Regions from separate parts of the Homo sapiens genome. Here regions 2, 3, 4 and 5 are each linked to region 1. The links are contacts of gene promoters, found by promoter capture Hi-C in human tissues and cell types (Jung and others, 2019). All regions are on one chromosome and are shown on one strand. The core of a region is centred on a gene start or on the middle of the fragment in contact, and the rest is flanking DNA. Distances in the headings are between cores, read along the strand shown. Region 1 holds the start of BMP1 (bone morphogenetic protein 1). Region 2 holds the start of LOC124901903 (a long non-coding RNA gene). Region 3 holds the start of SLC39A14 (solute carrier family 39 member 14). Region 4 overlaps XPO7 (exportin 7). Region 5 overlaps XPO7 (exportin 7).

The links. Contacts are between HindIII fragments. The study calls those that stand out against the background at their distance.
Region 2: a contact is called between a fragment that was not itself captured here and the fragment with the promoter of BMP1 in region 1, in 1 of the 25 tissues and cell types used here (bladder).
Region 3: a contact is called between the fragment with the promoter of SLC39A14 here and the fragment with the promoter of BMP1 in region 1, in 3 of the 25 tissues and cell types used here (IMR-90 fibroblasts, bladder and heart right ventricle).
Region 4: a fragment that was not itself captured here is called in contact with the fragment with the promoter of BMP1 in region 1 in 1 of the 25 tissues and cell types used here (spleen).
Region 5: a fragment that was not itself captured here is called in contact with the fragment with the promoter of BMP1 in region 1 in 1 of the 25 tissues and cell types used here (lymphoblastoid cells).

Annotation. Positions count from the first base shown.
Region 1 is chr8:22,164,122-22,166,752 of GRCh38, reverse strand. It overlaps BMP1 (bone morphogenetic protein 1), which reads right to left and starts at 1,381. Exons shown (of 20, transcript NM_006129.5): 1 at 1,200-1,381. The coding sequence starts at 1,347. SFTPC (surfactant protein C) reads right to left here. Exons shown (of 6, transcript NM_001317778.2): 6 at 2,274-2,487. RefSeq lists a silencer at 1,086-2,125. The HindIII fragment of the contact is 7,716 bases long and covers 1-2,631 here.
Region 2 is chr8:21,957,139-21,959,769 of GRCh38, reverse strand. The region is part of intron 1 of XPO7 (exportin 7); the gene reads right to left. It overlaps LOC124901903 (a long non-coding RNA gene), which reads left to right and starts at 1,497. Exons shown (of 2, transcript XR_007060847.1): 1 at 1,497-2,631. The HindIII fragment of the contact is 7,088 bases long and covers 1-2,631 here.
Region 3 is chr8:22,365,935-22,368,565 of GRCh38, reverse strand. It overlaps SLC39A14 (solute carrier family 39 member 14), which reads right to left and starts at 1,288. Exons shown (of 9, transcript NM_001128431.4): 1 at 1,158-1,288. RefSeq lists silencers at 1-48, 974-1,643 and enhancers at 404-653, 2,189-2,631. The HindIII fragment of the contact is 10,534 bases long and covers 1-2,584 here.
Region 4 is chr8:21,977,888-21,980,518 of GRCh38, reverse strand. XPO7 (exportin 7) reads right to left here. Exons shown (of 28, transcript NM_015024.5): 9 at 316-435. Among named protein-coding and RNA genes, the nearest start is that of NPM2, 45 kb to the left of the region's middle. The HindIII fragment of the contact is 9,023 bases long and covers 1-2,631 here.
Region 5 is chr8:21,998,108-22,000,738 of GRCh38, reverse strand. It overlaps XPO7 (exportin 7), which reads right to left. Exons shown (of 28, transcript NM_015024.5): 22 at 1,902-1,984; 23 at 1,434-1,648; 24 at 1,065-1,203. Among named protein-coding and RNA genes, the nearest start is that of NPM2, 25 kb to the left of the region's middle. The HindIII fragment of the contact is 4,535 bases long and covers 1-2,631 here.

The DNA.
Region 1 (2,631 bases), core at 132-2,631:
CCATTGGATGGTCTCTTATTCCTGCCTGTGGGCCACCCTCCCAGGAGAGTCCCTGAACAGGGTCTCCAGAGCCAGGACTAGAGCAACCTGCCCCTCCGCCCCTGGTGCCCCACACAGGCAGTCCAGTTCTAGCAACTATGCCACTTCCCCTGGCTCTGGCTATTTGGAGATGAGCTGAAGTCAGAGAGGCAGGAAGTCAAGGAAAAGTTCTGATATCTTGTCCCTGTGTGTCCCCAAACAGCCTGCCCAGGGTCATCCAATCAGGCAAATGGCCCGAGTGCCTGGCCATCTGGTCACTCCAGGGGCAGGACCCTTCTGGGCTCAGCAGGAGTGATGGGGTTACATAGAGTCTTCAGAGACAAAGAACACACACACATACAGGCAAACACACACTCCGGGGTCCTGACCTCAGCTAATTAGCCTCTGGTGTCTCGGGGGTGACAGAGCTGATATACAATATCTGGGTTCTCTTTGTATTTTCCCTCTTTCCACCCCAACTTGGCCTTGGCGGGGGTCTCTGGGCACATAGGGACAAAGTTAAGTCCCCCTTCTGGGTTGGCTTCTCTGACTTTGACAGCTGTCTCCTAAGTCCCAGAAAGCTTCAGCTACTGGTTAAACTACGGGATACCCAGAGAGCACGATCTCAGGGAATCCCTGGAAAAACTTTCTTCTTCCACTTGGGCTGGGTGGTGGCTGGGGGACCTGCTCCTTGGAGACTCAGGCCTCCCAGATCCAAGCCAGACAGATGTGCAGCCCCAGGGCAGCCCAGACAGGCTGGAAAACACCCAGCTCCTGGAGCAGGAGAGATGGGGGAGAAGGGGAAAGAACACACACACACACACACACACACACACACACACACACACACACGCACGCACAGGAGTTTGGCCAGAAAAGTTTCCTACAGAAGGAAAAGCCGCCTTGCCCGCCGGTTTTCCCGGGACGCAAGGAGACTTCCTCTGGAATCCTCTGGGAAGATGAGAGGCAGCGGCAGCAGCTTCCACCAACAGCGGCAAAACTTCAGTCCGAAAAGTCCCCCAAATCCCCCTCCCTCTCCCCCTCGTTCTTTTGTTCCCCACTGCATTGCCAACCAGGCAGCTCCCGGCTTCCCACACTGGACTGTCCTCCCCCAACCCCAAGCCCGAACCCGCCCGCGCCTCCCCGCCTGGCCCGTCGCCGGGGGGCCGGGGGGCGCTCACCCGCCTTGCAGGGGTCTTTGTAGTTGAGGGGCTCCGAGTCGTCCTCCTCCGCCAGGTCATAGGTGTAGTCGGCCAAGTCCAGCGGCCGGCCGGGACGCGGGAGCAGCAGCAGCCCGAGCAGCAGCGGCAGGCGGGCCACGCCGGGCATGCTGGCGGGGCGGCGGCGAGGGAAGCGGCGCACTGGAGGCCAGGGGAGGGCGTCCTCTCGCCCGCTTGCTTGCTCGATCGCGACCGCGACCGCTCCCGCCCTCGCTCCCCGACCTCTTCCCCTTCCCTCTGCTCGCCTCCCTCCTTCCTGTCTCCCGCCCCCCGCTCGGTCCGCGGCTCCGCGCTCGTCCTCGGGCTCCAGCCGTCTCCCTCTCCCTTTCCTTCTTTTTCTCTCTTTCTTTCTCTCCCTCCCTCCCTCCCTCCGACTCCCCCCCCCCTTTTTAGGGAAATGAGCTCGCTGGAGGGCGGGTTTTCGCCCGAGCTCTGCCCCCCTCGGGGCCGGGACAGTGCTCGGCCGGGCCGGGCCGCGCGCCAGCCGGGGCGGGGAAGGCGGAGAGCCGCGCGCCCGGGGAGGGGGCTCGGGCCGCCCGGGCCGCGGGCCGCGGGCCGCGAGGCCGGGGCTGGAGCTCGGGCCCCGGGGTGCCGGGAGGGCTGTCCCTCCTGAAGTGCCCTCTAGCGGCGGCCTCCCCCGCGGGCGCGCGGCCGAGCCCCCGCCCCGCCGCGGGACACGCTGTCAGGTCCTCGCGCCGCCCCTGCCCCGCGCCCCCGCCTCGGGTCGGTCTCTCCGCCCGCGTCTCCCTATCTCCCCTTCTTGGACCCTCGCTCTCTCGCGTCTCGCTCTCTGCGCTCTGTCTCTCTCGCTGTCTTGGTGTCTCTCCCTCCTCCGGAGACGCCGCTGGAGGGCGCCGAAAGCCCGTGGATGGCTCCCTGCGAGCCCCTCTCCCCCGCCGAGGTGGACCCAGTGCCCCAGCGCCCTGGGACAGAGGGCGAATGGCAAACCCCACTTTGCTCTCCCAAGGCCCTTCCCTTCTTGGCCGGCCCCCGCCAGGGCAGGACTGCGCCCTGCAGGAAGACAGAAGCAGACCCTTTGCTTTTCAATCAGGCTGCTTTATTCTGTTGTGGCAGGAGTTCCCGGGCCCCTGGGCGCCACCTCTGCCCACTCCCATCCTCTCCCCAAGCTCCCATTTCTCCAGGGCTTGTCCCTGCGGTGTGGGCAGAAGCAGCTTCTTGCCCGTCTGCAAAAGCTGCAAAAGACCCTTTGCCCGGGGCGTTTCCTTTCCCGTTGGGGCTTCCACTGACCCTGTGAAGCAAAGGAATGTTGAGGATGGACAGAGAGAATCAGGGGAGTGGGAAGTACCGGTCTGTGAGCTTCCCCTCCCCCGAGTTGCCTGGATGACCCCGCTTCAGTGGACGCCCCAGCGCCTGGTCAGCGCGAGCGCTCCTC
Region 2 (2,631 bases), core at 58-2,557, 210 kb after region 1:
CTAAGATTCTTTGACTGCAATAAACTATCCATCATGTTTTAATTATATTAGTGAATGAGAATTCCAAGTAAACAAATATTGAAGTTAAAATGATCATGAAAACGATGATTAGGACATTTTTTTTTTAAAGTGAGAATGGTATTTTAAAAAAATAAATTGGTAACACTCACATCCTTGTGATTGTAGTGTAGGATCTTTACCCACAAACAACTTCAGTGACCTAGCAGCAGGAACAAGGTTTCTTTTGGAGTTGATTCAGTACAGAGTAATGGGTAAGATTTTAGGTGGCAGACAAATCCCTACTCCTCCGTCTACTGTAGGAGCATGACTTAAGTTACTCAAATCATTCAAATATTTTCCCTTTCTTTTACATAGAAATAACACCCACTTTACAAGGTTGTAAAAGTCAATGAAGTAATGTGTGTACACTGCTAATTATTACTGGCTATTATTGATTATACTGGCTACCAAAAACTCTGGAGAATAGCAGCTTTTTTATTGCTTGCATGAGCGCACACAAAATCTGCACTGTTTCTTCTAAGGGGATTATAAATGCCCTTTCCCCTGTAGGGCCAGGGGCATCAGGGATCAAATATATAATTGATCCTCGTTATTCGCAGATTCTGTTTTGTGAATTCACCTACTCACTAAAATGTATTTGTAATCATCAAATCCATATTCGCTCAGGGTGCTTCTGCAGTCATTCATGCACGTGGACAGAGTGGTCAACAATTTGAGTTACCTGACTTACACAATCCCAGCTGAGGCTCAACACTGCCATGCTTTGCCTCTTTTTTTTTTTTTTTTTGGAGACAGAGTCTTACTCTGTCACCCAGGCTGGAGTGTAGTGGCGCGAACTCGGCTCACTGCAACCTCTACCTCCCGGGTTCAAGTGATTCTGCTGCCTCAGTCTCCCAAGTAGCTGGGATTACAGGTGTGCGCCACCATGTTCGGCTGGTTTTTGTATTTTTAGTAGAGATGGGGTTTTCCCCATGTTGGCCAGGCTGGTCTCCAACTCCTGACCTCAGGTATTCCACCCGCCTCAGCCTCCCAAAGCACTTGGGATTATAGGCATGCGCAACCATGCCCGGCCTTGCTTTGCCTTGTTTCAGCTTTCACACTAAACAACTGTAAGGTCCTTTACGGGTTTTTTTTTTTTCACTGCCATGTTTCTTGCAGTTTTGTGCTTTTTGTCGGTAATTTCACTGCTTAACATGGCCCACAGAGTGCTGAAGTGCTATGTCGAGTTCCTAAGGGCAAGACGGCTGTGATGTAACTTATGGTGAAATTGTGTGTGTTAGATAAATTTCATTCAGTCATGAGTTACTGTGCTTTTGGCCATTAGTTTAACGCTAATAAATCAACAATATGGTTTAAAATATCTTTAAACAAAAACACAAATAAAACATGGTTACATATTGCTTGTTTGACGCAAATGTGGTGACTAGCAGCTGGCCTGAATCTAACCCTATACTTCCCCTAGGAGCAATGGGTCAGTATTTGCTAATTCAGTGTTCTCGGTGACTTTACAGAACATGACAACAAGGAATAATGAGGATCAGTTTTATTTCTGGCACCACTGGGTGGGATTCAGTACATACTTCTCCATAGAAACATAATTATATTTATTGCCACTTTTTAAAGGTATTTGTTCAAATAGAAGTATTTGTTAGCCTATGTAATTTCCATATTAATGTCTGTACAACTGTCTCAAACGTTTGCTTAAATCGCCATTTCTATTAATTATGCATGAATTATGACTTTTCATAATTCTTGCACTTAGGAACTAGACATAGACAGCACTTCAGCACTCTGTGGGCCATTTTAAGCAGTGGAATTACCAACAAAAAGCACAAAACTGCAAGAAACATGGCAGTGGGAAAAAAAAAACCCGGAAAGGACCTTACAGTTGTTTACAGTGTGAAAGCTGAAACAAGAAGGCAAAGCAAGGCCAGGCATGGTTGTGCATGCCTATAATCCCAGTGAGCACAGTGCATGGACTGGGATGGAAATGCAAAGTACAAGAGTGTCTGGCACACAGTAGGAGCTTCATAAGAACGTCTTAACATTGGATAAGTCTAACTCTTAAAGCTTCCAAAGGAAATTCATATTAAAATGGCAGATTGATCACATATCTAATTTTGTTCCCTCCCCAAACCCAACTAACACAACACTAAAGGTATTCAAAACAAAACCAAGCCCTAAACCCTCAGGATCCCACAAGGATAGATAGGGAAGACAGGAAAGAGGACAACAGCAACATAATTTTGGGATACAGAAAAATCAATGGTAACTGACTTAAATGAACTAAGAAAGCCAAATCCCTAGCCAGCAGTGAGAAAAGCTGAACAAACTTCATTTATGCTACATGCTCAGATGTTAAGGTGAAGTGGGGTGGCCCAAAGAAGGAGAAACAGGGTGAAAGTATCTTTGAGAAGTTAAGATTCCCAGATAGTCCTCCTCACTGTATGCCTCTCAGTAACTGTCCCTCTCTTTGGACTGAGAGACACCAAGCCAGTCAAAAGCACATCTGAAGCTATGGGCACCCTGTAACAAATAGGTCAATGAAGTGGGAGTGCCGCTGAGTCTTCCCTCACTAGGATCCACCGAGAAATTTCAGTGTGCAGACAT
Region 3 (2,631 bases), core at 39-2,538, 200 kb before region 1:
GACTCCGTCTCAAATAAAATAAAATACAATAAAATAAAATAAAATAAAATAAAATAAAATAAAATAAAATAAAATAAAAGAGGGAAGGATTACGGAATTGTATATGCTGTGGTTAAGGAGATCTAGTCTGACCGTGGTACTGACCTGACCCTCCCAAGGTCACAGGGCCAGTTAAGAGCAGAGCAGGGACAGAGGCCAGGGCTAACTCCCAGGCCACTCCTCAGCAGGAGCACAGCCGTCCCAATGGCCTGGGGCTCCTAGGGGAGAGCCACTAAAGACGTAAACCCAAACCAGGCTTGCTCCAGGAAGAAGGGTCAGGTCAAAGCTGCTCCTAACCCCACGCTTCCATTCGGGCCACAAGAGAGCACTTAGCCACTCCCCAATTGTGTCCGGAGTCCTCCTGTACAGCCGAGCCCTTTAACTGTTTAGAGAAGCCTGTCTCTGGAACCCAGGCCCTGGCAAGCACCAGATCCTCAAAAGTGAACCCCTAGTCCAGAGCTGACGAAATTTTCCCGGCTCAACTGGACCTCAGGATCAGATGATGAAACTGCTCGGATGGCGACTTTGTCCCACTGCCCTCACCCACCAAGAGGGGGCAGCCTGAACCCGACCACCTAACTTGGTCATTAAGGACCAAAAATAGCCAGAAAGCCATCCTCGTGGGCAAGCCAGGTTGGAGATTCGCTCAGCCGGAAGATTGGGTACATGTACCTTCAGAGGGGAGATGGACCGGCGGGGGCCCGGGGACGCAGCTCCTGAAAAGCAAAGTCCAGACCCCAGAGCCCCATAGAGCCGCCCCAAGAGCCGCCCCTCGGATTGGCCACCTACTGTCTGCGTTCTGCGTCCGTGTCCGCGCGGGGAATCCGGGAGCCTGGCTCAGCCTTCGGCGCGGCGACCCACGCTCTGGGCACCCTTCTGCGGCTCTAGCATCCCGCACCCTCCAGGCGGACAGGCCGCGCCTTGACCTCTCCCCTCGCCAGCGCGGCACCACGGCCAGGTGCAGCCTCCACCCAGCCGTCCGGGCGTGTGCCGGTGCCCGGGAGCGGCGCCCGGTCCTCGGCGCAGGGCTGTCCCCGCCCCCACCCACTGCCCCAGCCTGGGGTGCGGGGCTCCTCCGCCGCTGCCCATCCCGCGGCCCTTGGCGTCCCCGCCCTCACCTGGCGCTCGGAGGCGGCCTCGGCCCCGCGCAGCCTCACCGCAAGGTCCCAGGCGGCCGGCGGCGGCAGAAGCAGCTTAGCCGGTGCGTCCGCGTAGACACGCGCGCCGACCCCCCTCACTGCGTCCGGGCCCCGGCACCGCGCGCATGCCCGGCTATATACCCGGCGCGTCAGCGGCCGGACCCGCCCCCGGCCCGCCCCGCTCGCCCCGGGGCTGCCACGTGGGGCCGGCAGGCTGGGGACCTGGCCAGCCTGCGCCCTCCTGCGCCTCGCGGCCCTGGCTGTGGTCGGCGCCCGCTCCCATCCTTCATCCGGCCGTGACTCCCGAGGACCCGCAGGCTCCTCCTGCCTCCGGAAACCTCCCGTGAAGACCTGCTCCCTGGGCGCGGGAAGCTCTCACCGCCTAGCCTCCACCCCACACCCCCTGGAGGAGAGTCCTACCCACTCTATTTGAATGTGATTTTACCACTTCTGGTTCACCCAAAAAGCTTTTCTCTTCCCTCCCCAGTTCGGAAAGGTACTTCAGAAGGGGACGCGCCCTTAGATGGTGTTTCTTCTGCATATTTCCACCAGCCAAAAGAACCAAAATTTCCTGGTCGAGTTCCAAATAAACCATATTATATTCACTTTTCAGACTTGATGCCGCACCGCTTCCCACAATGATCAGACGCCTAAAGAACCCTACTAACCCAAAGTTGGGAGAAATGTTAATTTGGGGGTGAAGAAGTTCCGAGGAGACTCTTCCTCTGTGGGACAGTCCCATTGAGATGTATATCAGGCCTGGGAAATGTAGTCGATTTCTTGAGAAAATAAACCACCCTTTCCACTCCCATTGTTCTGTTCTGCAGGACATCAGGACAATTTCCTCTATGAGCTGAACCCGCTGCCACCTGGGCCTTGGGGGGCTCGGAGGAAGGGCTTTCTAGCCCAACTGTCGCGGCTTAGTACTCGAGCTGATCCTAGCACAGTGACTGGTCCCCAGACGGCACTAGCTGTCTCTAAATTTGCGCAGGGAAGGGGGCAACATCCCACTCTCTGCAGGTCTTGCGGGGAGGACCCCCGTGATGGCGGCGCTAAGGAGAAAAGGAAAGCAGACAGTCGCTGGAGCCGGTAGCAAGAACTCAGGAGCTTGCTCTTCGCCAGGCCAGAGGGGGTCAGATTCTTCATATTACTTTTGAAGAGTGTAGCTGGGCCCCGGGCGTTTCTAAAATTCAATTATCCTCACCCCGTAATTACAGTGCTGCAGTGGGTATGGGGGCAGGGTGATATTCCTCTCATTTATTTTCCAAGTGATTTCAAAGTAATGATATCTCTTGCAGAATTTCCCTCAGAGCCCCTTCATCTTTGTAATAACCCTATTTCTCTCTTGGTTAAACTCGGTGCTTTCCAGACATTATGTCATCCGTTTGGGACTCTCATCCCACTGCAGTGGGCTGTGAGAAAGGGGCCAGTCCCCGCCACACCTTTTGTTGAA
Region 4 (2,631 bases), core at 57-2,556, 190 kb after region 1:
ATTACAGGCGTGAGCCTCTGTGCCCGGAGATGTTAGAGTCTTAACTTCTTGGGGGGAAAAATGACTAGCTTCTTCCTTATTTCCTTATAGCGAAGTGATTCTTTCCTGTAACTCCTACATTTCTGAAGCGGGAGGATATAAGCTCCTCTTTTGGGCAAATAATCTCAGAATTGGCCTACAAATAGAGATTCACTTCAGTCTTCCCTGAAGAACAGACTGAATTGTTTACTGGGCCTTGGGATGGATTTCCTTCTGACTCATAACAGCTGGCCATACACTAATCCTATACATATGTAAATTCTCAGATAAACTTACCTGTGGGTTTTCCAGTATTCGTTTAACACCATCAACAAGATGAGAGAGAAACTTGGCCCTCTCTGCATTGTTAAACAGGGATCTTCTGACTGAAGCGATCTGTACCAAGCAGGATAATACCTAAATGCAGGGCAGAACCCAAACACAACGATTAAAAAGACTGTACAGTTACTTTCACCAGAAACGTTCCACCTCCTACAATATCCTTCTTTAGGATATCTGAAGCAACATTATTTTAAAAAGAGAAAAGAAAAGAACATAGATCCAAGCAGACCACGGCAGCCCATTAAATTCAGTTTGGAAATTCCCTTAGGTACAAATTCCTTTGACCACTCCAATGGCATCTTTGTTCTTGCTGAGATACGTTATTTCACCCTTAAAAATATCGAGCAATTTATACTTTAAAGTTTTAGATTTAGTTTTCTTGGCTAATCTGAGTTTGACATGTAGATGTTATGTGCTTATGTCATTACATGCTATAAAGAAATAAGCGTATCGGCCGGGTGTGGTGGCTCACGCCTGTAATCCCAGCACTCTGGGAGGCTGAGGCAGGCAGATCACGAGGTCAGGAATTTGAGACCAGCCTGGCAAACATAGTGAAACCTCATCTCTACCAAAAATACAAAAAATTAGCTGGGCGTGGTGGCAGGCACGTGTAATCCCAGGTACTTGGGAGGCTGAGGGAGGAGAATCGCTTGAAGCTGGGAGGCGGAGGCTGCAGTGAGCCGAGATCGCGCCACTGCACTCCAGCCCGGGCAACAGTGAGAGACTCCGTCTCAAAAACAAAAAAAAACGAAAAAAAAAAAGAAAAAAAAAAGAAATAAGCATATCACATCTGGGCCCTAAAAAAGCCAGCTTTGGCCAGGTGTGGTGGCTCACGCCCGTAATCCCAGCACTTTGGGAGGCTGAAACAGGCAGATCACCTGAGGTCGGGAGTTTGAGACCAGCCTGACCAACATGGAGAAACCCTGTCTCTACTGAAAATATAAAATTAGCCGGGCGTGGTGGCTCATGCCTGTAATTCCAGCTACTCAGGAGGCTGAGGCAGGAGAATCGCTTGAACCCATGGGTAGTGCCATTCCACTCTAGCATGGGCAACAAGATCAAAACTCTGCCTCAAACAAACAAACAAAAAAACACAACCCAGCTTTATCCCTGAAGACATTTCCCTCTGTTCCCACTGTGTTAGATATTTACATTCTCTGTTTGCCCCCTCTAGATCTGCTTTCGACCCTTTTCCACCCTGCCCTATTCCCTAGGAGGCTGACCTCTGTTGAGGAGAGCAGCCAAGCTCCCTTGCCCTCTGGCTTCTAGTTGGCTTCAACCAATGGAAAGTACCAGCAGGAGATTAGAGGGCAGAGGGAACAGGGTACCCCTCTTCCGACCATCCAGCTGGCTATGCAGTGGCAGAGTTTCTCTAGTGATGGCTGTAGTTCTTGTTGTCCAGCCCTCCTCTAAGACACAGCTTCAACTCTCTCCAGGTTTCCTTCACTTGCCCTTTGAGGCTCCCCACTACTGCCAGCCCCAGGGGCATGCACCACCACCCCGTGCTGGTGTCCCTTAATTTTACCCATACCTTTGCAAGTAGTACTCTCTTAATCATCCCTCTTGACTGTGCTACCTTTTCTTGCAGTAACCTTAACGATACACCCGACAACACTGAAATCATGTTTCAGCGAACACAAAGGTCTACATTAATTTGGAGAAGTGCTACAATGGCCAGAAAAGTCCTCTACTGAACAAACACTATGCACACCACTCATTACTTCACTGTGTCTTCTTTATATATTTTGTGTATAACACCAACCGGTAATTTACACCAACAATCTGAAATACCAGACCAATAGTATTTTAGAACGTGAATGAATTTTGAGGTTTTAGGTTAATTATGGCTTTAAAAGAGAAATACACCATTCCCAATAGCTTTCAAATGTTATTCAGGGTAAGTATGCAAATTAGCCTTCTCATCACAGTTTCCATTTATGACAATCTAATGTACACCTAAGGGGTTTTCTGAGTCAGGACAATCTTAATAGTTCAACTAGACAGTATTAGGTGAATCCCCAGGTGCTAGCCTGTGGCCGTTTGAGGAACAGCATAAAGTCAGATACACGATGAGACCCAAAAGAGCTTGACCATCTGCAGGAATTGGCCTTTAGACAGGAATAATTTAAAAATAATTAAGACTTTATGGCTGGAACCTTTAGGCTACAAGCTTAATCTCAAAAGACTAGATAACTAGCCTAGTATTTCTATGCTTTACTTGTATAATTTTATAAAACAAAACGAATATAAGGTTCATTCACCATTGCTATC
Region 5 (2,631 bases), core at 88-2,587, 170 kb after region 1:
GCTCATGCCTGTAATCCCAGTATTTTGGGAGGCCAAGCCAGGCGGATCATGAGGTCAGGAGATTGAGACTATCCTGGCTAACACAGTGAAACTCCGTCTCTACTAAAAATACAAAAAAATTAGCCAGGCATGGTGGCGGGCGCCTATAGTCCCAGCTACTTGGGAGGCTGAGGCAGAAGAATGGCATGAACCCGGGAGGCAGAGGTTGCAGTGAGCTGAGATCGCGCCACTGCACTCCAGCCTGGGCGACAGAGCGACTCCGTCTCAAAAAAAAAAAAAAAAAAATTGTTGGAAGGTAGCCTAGAAACAAAATGGTTGACAGAAACCATATGGACTAGGATGAAAAAACTTATGGAGCTAGCTGCATGAAACCTTTCCCCAGCTTCCACGGCCCTCAGGACAGAATTCAAACAGCCTAATACGGCTTACAGGCGGGCCCCCTTCATGATCTCCAGATTTGCTCCTGCTTATCTCTAAAGCTTCATTTCATTCCTAACTCCTCTGGACTAGTGTGCCAGCCATCTGGATTTCCTGGTTCTTTCTTGCCTACAGGTGCAAGTGCTTGCTGTCTCTGCTGCTAGGAACCCTCCCTGGCTAACCAGGGTAACATCTGTCCAGCTTTTAGGTTTATGCTTTGATGCCAAGTCTTCCAGCCAGTCTTCCTTGATCCTGACTTCCTCACAACCAAGAGTCTAGGTATTCTTGAGGGCTTGTGTAGCACTTTGTACTCACCCCTATTGTAATGTTTAAGTGGTAAGTATGGTAAACAGGCAGTTGTTTGTTCATGTGTCTGTTCTACCCACCAGATAAGCCCCTTAAGGACAGGGACTATATGCTGTTAATTACCGTATCCTCAGTGCTTCCACAGGGCCTTGTACTTAGGAAGGGAATCAGTGAGTGTGTGCTGGATAAGCATGTGCTGTGCATTATATACTCTATTGTTATGGCCAAACCCCCAAGGCAGTGGTGATCTTTTTGGACACTGGGGCAAGATTCTCTCTTTCTGTTTAGTTAAGTGGTAAAAAACAAACCCACCAACTCACCCACCCACCTCAGGTGCTTACCAAGTGCAGTAAGTCCTTCAGAAATGGAAGAGAGAATATACATGATGACGTGAGGTTCCAGGCTTGCAATAAAGTTCATATGGTCCTGGGTCAGGACTTCCAGTAGTGAATAATAAGACTGGCTGAGCTTGGGGTAATCCTGTGGGAGAGGAAGAGGAAGAAAATCAGCTTAGGCACTATGCACTCCAGCATGCAGGGAGACGATCTTAAATAGCTTAGCTCCTTTTAGGTGGGAAAACAGAAGACTTAGTTAGAGCAAAAGGAGCTAGCTTACATAGTTTCTCAAGAGCAGTGTTCAATCTTGGTCTCAGGTGAAAAAGGCTGAATGTGATGAGGAACAAGATTGTGGCAATGCAGCGTAAGGCTTACCAAGAGATCACTGTGAGGAATAGAGAGGAGCAGCTTGATGAAGGTCTGCAGAGCATTGTCCAGGGCATCGTCTCCATAGAGACGAAAGACTCCGAAATTGACGTAACTCCCACTGAGAGCAGCCTTCAGCATGGAGAAGCAGATGGAGATGCCCTTGAGCTTCAGAGCATAGACCTGATCCTTTGGGACCTCTCCTAGTGTCAGGATGCGATTGCCTGAGTAGACATGTCATATATGTTTATTCAACCACATTAGAAGCGCTCGTTTAGATCAGCCTTCCTACTCCAAAGGCATACAAATTCCAGTAGGCCCCTGGTGACAGGTGGCACTCTAATGCACATGTATTAGCATACAATACGAATGCTGTCCTGGCTCCTGCCAGGACTGGCCAGAGACCCACATGCTGCTTACAGTGTGGTGACTGAGCTGGAATTAACTTCTAGAGGCATGATTATCTGAAGCACTTACCATACATTGTTATCATCTTGCTGGTTTCTCGGAAGAGTAAGATGCCATTGGGGGAAGAGACATCAAACTGGAGTCGCTGGGACCTGAGCAGAGAGCACAGGAGGAGAAAAAGTCAGAGGTGTTTTCTTGGAAGACTGGGGTACTTGAGGCTCTCATCTGAGTACCTTGGGTGATCCTGCATTTACATTAAGGTAAGCAATTGCCTATCCTAATATGAGAATAACCAAGTTATAGATATTTAACCATGAAGTAGCTTCTATATTGAAGACCAACATGCTAGATTCAGATTCTGCTGCTCAAATTAAAAACATTTATAAGAAAAAAAAAGCAGCAGTAGATAAAATTACTATTTGAAAATTCTCAATTTTATTTGATTAAAGTATACTTTCTTTTTTTTGAGATGGAGTCTTACTCTGTCGCCCAGGCTAGAGTGCGGTGGCGCAATTTCGGCTCACTGCAACCTCTGCCTCTCGGGTTCACACCATTCTCCTGCTTCAGCCTCCCAAGTAGCTGGGACTACAGGTGCCCGCCACCACGCCCAGCTAATTTTTTGTATTTTTAGTGGAGATGGGATTTCACCATGTTAGCCAGGATGGTCTCGATCTCCTGACCTCGTGATCCGCCCGCCTCAGCCTCCCAAAGTGCTGGGATTACAGGCGTGAGCCACCGTGCCCGGCCTTGATTAAAGTATACTTTCTACCCGTCGCCTCTTGATACTAATGCAGAGCCC